Regions from separate parts of the Homo sapiens genome. Here region 2 is linked to region 1. Evidence: promoter capture Hi-C in human tissues and cell types (Jung and others, 2019). All regions are on one chromosome and are shown on one strand. Each heading gives the region's core, a stretch centred on a gene start or on the middle of the fragment in contact. The rest is flanking DNA. Distances are from core to core; before and after follow the strand shown.

Region 1 (3,882 bases), core at 83-2,582:
CTGTTGTTAAAAGATGATGGGGGGGATCCCCTCGGTGACTGGAGTTTTCTGCCTTCTATTTCCTCCCTTCTCAAATTTCAAGCCCCATTGGTCAGTAAAAGAACACTGGTCCCAACAGCTAAAGAGACAGGAGTAGAGAGGAAGACAATGAGACAACGTCTTGTAAATAAGAAAGAGCCAGGGTGGTGGCCTGTGTCTGCAGTCCGGGCTACTTGGGATGCTGAAGTAGGAAGATCACTTGAGTCAGGCAGTTCCAGACCAGCCTGGGCAACATAGTGAGACCCTGACTCAAAACAAAACAACAATGAAGATTAAGAAAACCAGAAAGTGTCCTGAGGAGCAAAACAGATGACTAAAACATTACAGACTTAGCTATAAGGTTCTATATACAAGTAACACACGATTATATTGTCCTTGACAATAACAGATAAGGCTGCGCTCCCTTGAGAATGACAGATAAGGCGCAGGTACCTTTTGACCTAACCCCAGGCACTTCTCCCTTGCCTGGCAGTGACTACTGGTAAAATTGGCAGAGCTACTTATTTTACAAAATCTCCCAGACACTCGCCTAAGGGCCAGATGATCCCCATTTTAGAAAAGGAAAACAAAACTGTTCAACAACTTGCCTAAGGTCACAAGGCAAGCTTGTGGCCAGTTCCAATTCTCAGTGCTTGCTTCAGACTAGGAGAGGTTTTGCTGAAAATCAATTTGCAAGTCATCCTATTAAACACAAATCTGTTTTTTGCCAAAAAAGATCGCTGTGGGGGAAGATGTTATCTTGTTTGTTTTGATCAAGAAAAGAAAGGGCCTTATCTCAATGAAATGTCCCATTCGTGGTAGGATGTAAGGGTACTTTTGACCGCAGATTTCAGCTTAAAATAAAACGACCTTATATCCTCATTTAGCAGCCAATCATGGCCTTTGAATCGGGGAAACCTCATTGACCAGCAGTTTCCCCAAATCATACATTTCTGCACACAGCTTCTATCTAGGCGTAGGAGAGAACGGAAGCACTCAGACCACCCAGAGCCAGAAAAGGACAAAAAAAGCACTTTGAATTTTTTAAGGAAAAAAAAAAAAAAGAGTGAGATTCAAAAGCAATATAATTACACAAGGTAAGAACCGGGGAAAAGAGACATGTTTTCAAAAGCACAAACCCAGTAACAAACTCTCACGCCTGGAGAAAAAAGAGGCATGGCAGCTGGTGCGCCTCTTGCTTGAACCTACCTGCGTTCAGGCCCAGCAGCAGCGGCAGCAGCAGCAACCACCGCGGGACGGGAGAGCGCCGCAGTGCCAGCTCCATGACAAGTACCGCACGGCAGCATCAGCAACAGGCTGGACCCGGCGCCCCATCACGTGACGGAGGCGGACGGGGCGGGTCGGGGGCGGGGCCTGCGGGTCGGGGGCGGGGCCTGAATGGGCATGGGGCGGGGCCTGGGCGGACCCGGCAGCTTGCTGAGACCCGCACGCCCTCTGCCCGGCAAGCCCACCAGGACCCCTGCAAATGCGCAGGGGCCGTTCTGTCCGCCTGGCCAGGTTCTCTGTCATTTTAGGGAGAGTATTTCGGAAAGGAGACATTTGATGCAGATGTTGGATTTAGGTTGTGTGACCGGATCGAAATACTAAAGGGAATAACCACCGCCCTTTCTACCCCTCCCATCTCTTCCTTCCCTCAGCAAAAGAACCGACGTTTTCCAACACTGCTACATCTGCGAAGTCAGATTAAGCCAGCTGGTCGTTGGCAAACAGCGGGGTTTCATTTTCAGATATGTATTTTTTAAATTATTTTTCTTTTAAAGTTATGTATGTTATAAACGTTTTGGAAATATGAACAAAAAAGTTATACATAACTATTGTTGGCATTTTTTCCCATAGTCTTTTACGTCATTTTAAAAAACACTAATAAAGATTTTTATTTTTTTTTTCTTTTTTGATAATTTGTCATTAGTATTACTCTGTGTTACGTTATCTTCACAGCAGTCATTTTAAAGAGAGAATCGAGGGTCTGGGGACGGGAAAGGAAGAAAAAGTGGATGACAGAGCTGTTTTCCTCTGTGTGTGTGTGTGTGTGTGTGTGTGTGTCTGTCTGTCTGTCTGAAGGTCATTTTTACGTTAGAGGGTACTGAATAACTCACCTCACAGCTAGGAGACAAGCTACAGCAGGGGCTGTAGGAGAGGCTACTTCTAAATACTGCTTCAAAAGTACATGTAACAAAAAGCAAAAAACAAATCAAAGTACATGTGGCCACTTCTCCTCTTTCCCTGCTCCTTTCTCCCTCCCCTCGCCCTTGACCCCCATAAATGGAAGTGCTTTTTACTCTGCAGCCATTGTCTGGACAGAGCCTTGACCCCGCCCTGCCTGTGAGGTGCCCCTGCACTGAAAGCTGCGGCAGAGAAAAATATGCCGCCGGGTTCTGTCATGCTTTAAGCATGGGATGGTCCCGAATGCATAAAATCCATAATGCCTGGGCAACATATTGAGACCCCCTCTCTACAAAAAATAACAAAAATTAACTGATGTGGTGACACGCGCCTGCTGTCCAAGCTACTCAGAAGGCTGAGGTGGGAGGATCACTTGAGCCCAGGAGCTCCAGGCTGCAGTGAGCAGGTGTTCCATGCCATATGGGAGATACATAAAAGTACATGCTTAGTTAAAAATAAATAACTATCTAGCAAACTTTTCCTGTCTGAAGCTTCCAAGTTGGTCTGTATCACTAGGGCTTGAAATACACTTACCCTTCCACTGCAGTCAGAATTTTAGGGTTTCAATTTTTTTGCCACAAAAATAACACTACAGCCCAGGGCGCAAGGTGGCTCACACCTGTAATCCCAGCACTTTGGGAGGCCGAGGTGGGCAGATTACTTGAGGTCGGGGGTTTGAGACCAGCCTGGCCAACATAGTGAAACCCCATTTCTACAAAAATACAAAAATTAGCTGGGTGTGGTGGCACTTGCTTGTGGTCTTAACTACTCGGGAGGCTAAGGCATGAGAATCGCTTGAACCCAGGAGGTGGAGGTTGCAGTGAGCCAAGATGGTGCCACTGCACTCCAGCCTGGGTGACAGAGTAAGACCCCATCTCACACACGCACAAAAAAATTGTGCATTTTATAATACGCTAATATGACTTCAAAAGGAAAAAATATAAATAAAATGTCACCTCTAGTTAATGATATTCATATTAAAGTGTTTAGGGGAAGGTGTACCAATGTATACAATTTTCTTTGAAATGTATCCAGATGCTGGCACAGTGACCTATGCCTGTAATCCAGCTCTTTGGGAGACCAAGGTGGGATGATTGATTGAGCCTAGAAGTTTGAGACCAGCCTGGACAATATAGTGAGACCATGTCTCTTAAAAAAAAAAAAAGTATCCAGAATATAAGATGGATTGATGGATAGGATGGAAAGAAGGTTGGATACATGGATAAATACATGATATCAAGTATTACAGTAACATTTTCTTTTTTCATTACAGTTTATAATCACAGGAACAAAATAAACAAAAACCACATGTAGAAACCAGATTAAAGCTTGTTATCCTTACAGGCAGTGGCGAAATTCCAATCTTCAGGGTTGGAGTGGTCTTTGTTTAAGAAAAATACCTCCTTGGTTCATTGAAGTTAGGAGTTGGGAGCTGATGGCATAGTAGCTGCAGCCAAGGCAACAAAAGATAATTGCCAAACTGTGCGGCCCAGGAGAAATTTTGTTTTGCTCCTAGGAGAGGAAAGAAGAGAGAAAGATGAAAAGAAGTGAAGGCTACATATAGAGAAAGATTAGCCAAAGAGAGTTGAGGCTGGAAGAAGAGCCAGTAGAAATTTCTCCGATGAGGAGTGGCTATGTAATCCCCCAATGGGTTCTTTTTGCCTGCTGCCCAGATAGAGC
Region 2 (3,817 bases), core at 455-2,954, 1.2 Mb before region 1:
TTAAGGTATAGAGCTGTTTATATTTAGCAAGACTTTGACACTAATTTTCTCAGAAAAAACCGTACAACACCGTAATGGTTAGCATGAATAGATCATGTCCTCTATAGCTATTTATACCAAGGACTTCAATATCCACACAGGCTCTACGAGGTAGGTTTTAGGGCCATTTTACAGATGAGGAAACTAAGCCTCAGAAAGCTGTGTTATTTGCCTCAAGTCACTGCACTGGTCAGTGGAAGGGCCTGGGTTCAAGCCCTGCCTGCGTGACTCTGGGCTGTGTTTTACTCCCCGCATTTAAGAGATCAAGCAACCTCCCAAACCCTCAGCCCCAACTCACAAGAGGGAGAAGGAAGCCATTGCGCCTCCTGCTGGGGGTCCAGCCGAAGGGGAGCGACAGCCCATCCTCATACTCGGCGGGCAGCCAGCGAGCCAGAGCCTGGTTGGAGGCCCCTAGCAAGGGTCTCCTCCTGCAGCCATGGGTGGGATAGGTTAGCAGGGGGCAGGGCCTGGAGATGGCTCAGCATGGAGGGAGAGGGTGGGTGCAGGAAGGGAGAGGTCCCCCAGGCAGGGGCAGCCCCTCCTGCCGCCCCGCACGCACTTGTTGTTGCACCGTCCAGTGATGGTGCGGTACTTGTCGCTGCAGCGCTCGGCCTGGTCCCGGAGAGCACAGCCACTGGCCTGGGACAGCAGCCGCAGCTGTGGTTCTGTTAGCACATCTGTGGGAAGGCAAATGGGCAGACCTGAGCTGGCCTGCTCTGTACCTCCCATCCCTTTACCCTCTCTCCTCCCAGCACCCCAAACCTGTGCACCCTGCCTCCCTCTCCTGGATTCCTTCTACTCCAGGCCAGGGTAGGCCCAGCGGGCTCAGTGGGGATCAGAGTACCAGTGACATTGAAGGGTCCGGACCGCTGGGGTTGTAACTTCTCTTCAAGCAGCCCCAAAGCCACATGCATATAATCTGCGGCCCGAACAACTGTCCTGGTGGCTGCTACCGGTTGTTTGAAGTAGGACAGGAGGTCCATGGGGCTGGCTGAACCGCTGCGAAGCCGCTGCTTGATGCTGCCCAGGAGAGGAGGAGTGAGGGCTGGAGAGAGGGTGCAGACCCACCCAGCAGAGACCCAGTCCTGGGGCACAGTCAGGACAGGGCAAGCGGACAGAAGGATGGATGGAAGGGAGGCTCTACCAACAGGAAATGTTCATGGGGTCCAGAGGTGGCTGATGAGTGAGATGAACTTGGCTGGGGCCCATGCCCCTCACTGATCCTCCCAGGCCCATGCAGCCCCCAGACCCAAGTCCACCTCTTCTGGGTCCAATTGTAGGCAGCATCCACCAGCAACTTGGCCTCTGCTATGCAGTCTCGCAGGACCGAGGTCTCCACTGCCCCAGGGGAGGCTGTTCAAAGAGATGGGGACTCAGGGTTCAGCAAGCCACAAGACCCCCTCCAAGACCCAAGTGCTTCCCCTTCCATTTCCCCTCCCTCCTCCTTGCCTGTCTAGGGGACTATTACCTGGGTCAGTGCCCTCACAGGGCTGGGCGAGGACGAGTGTGGCCAGGACCCCTGCCAGGGCTGGGAGCAGATGCATCTCTGCAGCGAGGCTTCACCAGCTGGGAAGTGAGTGACATCCACAGCCTGCACGGGAGGATCCTCTGCTCCCCTCTCACTTTGAGGACCCCCAGCCGACCTCTCACTTCCTCCAGCTCTTCTCTGGACGTAGCTGGGAAGGGACTTTTATAGCCCATTCTAGGGTGGGGGAGGGCAGCTCTGGGCCCTAGAAACCCAGCCTCTTGGGTGGAGTTCTGAAACTTCTCTCTGGTTTTCATGGGAGTTTTGAGACTGAAACCCCCCACCCCACCTCCTACCAGCCTGGGGACATTCTTCCTGCCTACCCTTCACTCCATCCCTACCCTCTACTACCAAGCCCACTGATGCACTTCTCCCAGGGCCCAGAGCAGCACCTGGGACACAGGTGTCGCTCAATGGATATTTGTTGGCTGACAGGAGCGGTGCACCTCAGTCGCCACCGCCTGGCTGCATGGCCTTGGGCAAGCCACTTTCCCTCTCCAGGCCTCAGTTTTCACATCCCTAGAATGAGAGTTGGGCCAGATGATTGGAAGGGTGCCTCTCCTCCTGCAACAGGGCAGAAACTGAATCTGCCTTACTGTTATACACACCCCCCATACCCAGCTCAAAGCCCAGCATTTAGTATGTGCTTAGCAGGTGTTTGTTGAGTGAATGAATGATCTGTGATGAATGATTTGGCCCCTCTCCTTATCCCCTAGCCCTACTCACTCCCTCCAAGGTGCCAGGGAGAGTGTGAGGCTGTGACTGAGGCAGGGCCTGGCAGTGAAATCCCTCATGGGGCCATTTTGGGGACATGGCGAGATGTCACAGGTAAAACACCCAGCCCAGTGAGCTGCTGCAGAGCCTAAAAGTAAGCGCCCGCCATGGGCTTTATTCTCTTGGAGTTTCTTAGGTGCCAATCAGTAGTAGGTTTACTCTGAGAAGTAGATTTCAATTATGAGTTCCTATTGGGCTTGGTGAGAAGTAGCTTCTTTAGAGGCAGTGTGCTGCACCAGGGTCTGATTGGCCTGGATTGAATCCAGCCCTGTCACTAGCTTCGTGACCTTGGGTGAGCCTCCATTTCCACCTTAAGTGCGCCTCCATTTCCACCTTAAGTGCAGAGTGCATCCCAGTCGGCCTTCTGCCAGGGCCCACCCTCTCTGCACCTAAGCCTTCCTCCTGTAGTTCCCTGCCCTGGATGAGCCAGGTTCATCCTTTGCCTCTGACCTCATCCCGGCTGCCTGGAGAGCACATGCTCATCCCTGAGACAGTTCCAGAGTCACCACCACTGTGGCCAGCAGCCTGCGTGTCCTCGCCCCTTCTTCAGGAGGACACGTCCATTCCTTCTTCAGTGTGGACCCCGTGCCTGCTCCAGACTCCCAGGGAGGCTGTTCCAAGTGTCCTTTCTCCTCCCCCACCCCCACACCCTACCGAAACCCTGCCCGGTGCCTTCCACAGCCTCCTCCTCCCACAGCAATGTTACCAGCCCAACCGTTGCTCTTGAAACAACCACCTCTCTTCGGCAACCCCTTTCACAAGCTCCAGTTGATGGCCTGAGCCCTCCTAATCTTATCTCCTTATCTTTAGCGGAGGCCCCTCTCCTGTGACGGGGGGCCTGGGTAGAAGTCACTGTGTAGGAGCTGAAAGCACACTGGGTTCCTTGATGCTGACCCACTGAGTGACTGGGTAAATCACACCCCTCCATGGACCTGTTTCCAAACCTGTGAGATGGGGACAGGGAGCCTCATGGAGGAGAGAGATTATATAAATCACACAGCACTCCTCAGCTGTGTGTCACCTCCCGGCCCTCAGGGAGCCAGGTGCTCCCCGGGTGGAGCCAGGTGGAATGCATGTACCCCAGGTTGGAGCTGGATGGGGTGTATGTACCACAGCTTGGAGCCAGGGTGGGGTGTATATAACCCAGGTTGGAGTTGGAGTAGGGTGTATGTACCCTAGGTTGGAGCCAGGGTGGGGTGTATGTACCATAGCTTGGAGCCAGAGTAGGGTGTATGTAACCCAGGTTGGAGTTGGGGTGGGCTGTATGTACCCTAGGTTGGAGGCAGGGTGGGGTGCATGTACCCCAGGTTGGAGTTGGGGTGGGGTGTATGTAACCCAGGATAGAATTGGGGTGGGATGTATGTACCCCAGGTTGGAGTTGGAGTGGGGTGTATATACCCCAGGTAGGAGTCGGGGTGGGGCGTATGTACCCCTGGTTGGAGTTGGGGTGGGATGTATGTACTCCAGGTTGGAGCTGGG

The links. The method cuts DNA at HindIII sites, captures the fragments that hold promoters and counts their contacts. A contact is called where the count stands out against the background at its distance.
Region 2: a contact is called between the fragment with the promoter of EPX here and the fragment with the promoter of SCPEP1 in region 1, in 1 of the 25 tissues and cell types used here (small bowel).

What each region holds. Positions count from the first base shown.
Region 1 is chr17:56,975,581-56,979,462 of GRCh38, reverse strand. It overlaps SCPEP1 (serine carboxypeptidase 1), which reads right to left and starts at 1,332. Exons shown (of 13, transcript NM_021626.3): 1 at 1,228-1,332. The coding sequence starts at 1,303. LOC105371836 (a long non-coding RNA gene) reads right to left here. Exons shown (of 4, transcript XR_934875.4): 4 at 3,456-3,714. RefSeq lists a silencer at 1,390-1,449. The HindIII fragment of the contact is 4,443 bases long and covers 1-3,112 here.
Region 2 is chr17:58,190,613-58,194,429 of GRCh38, reverse strand. It overlaps EPX (eosinophil peroxidase), which reads right to left and starts at 1,704. Exons shown (of 13, transcript NM_000502.6): 1 at 1,508-1,704; 2 at 1,299-1,392; 3 at 884-1,059; 4 at 599-716; 5 at 338-467. The coding sequence starts at 1,583. The HindIII fragment of the contact is 10,445 bases long and covers 1-3,817 here.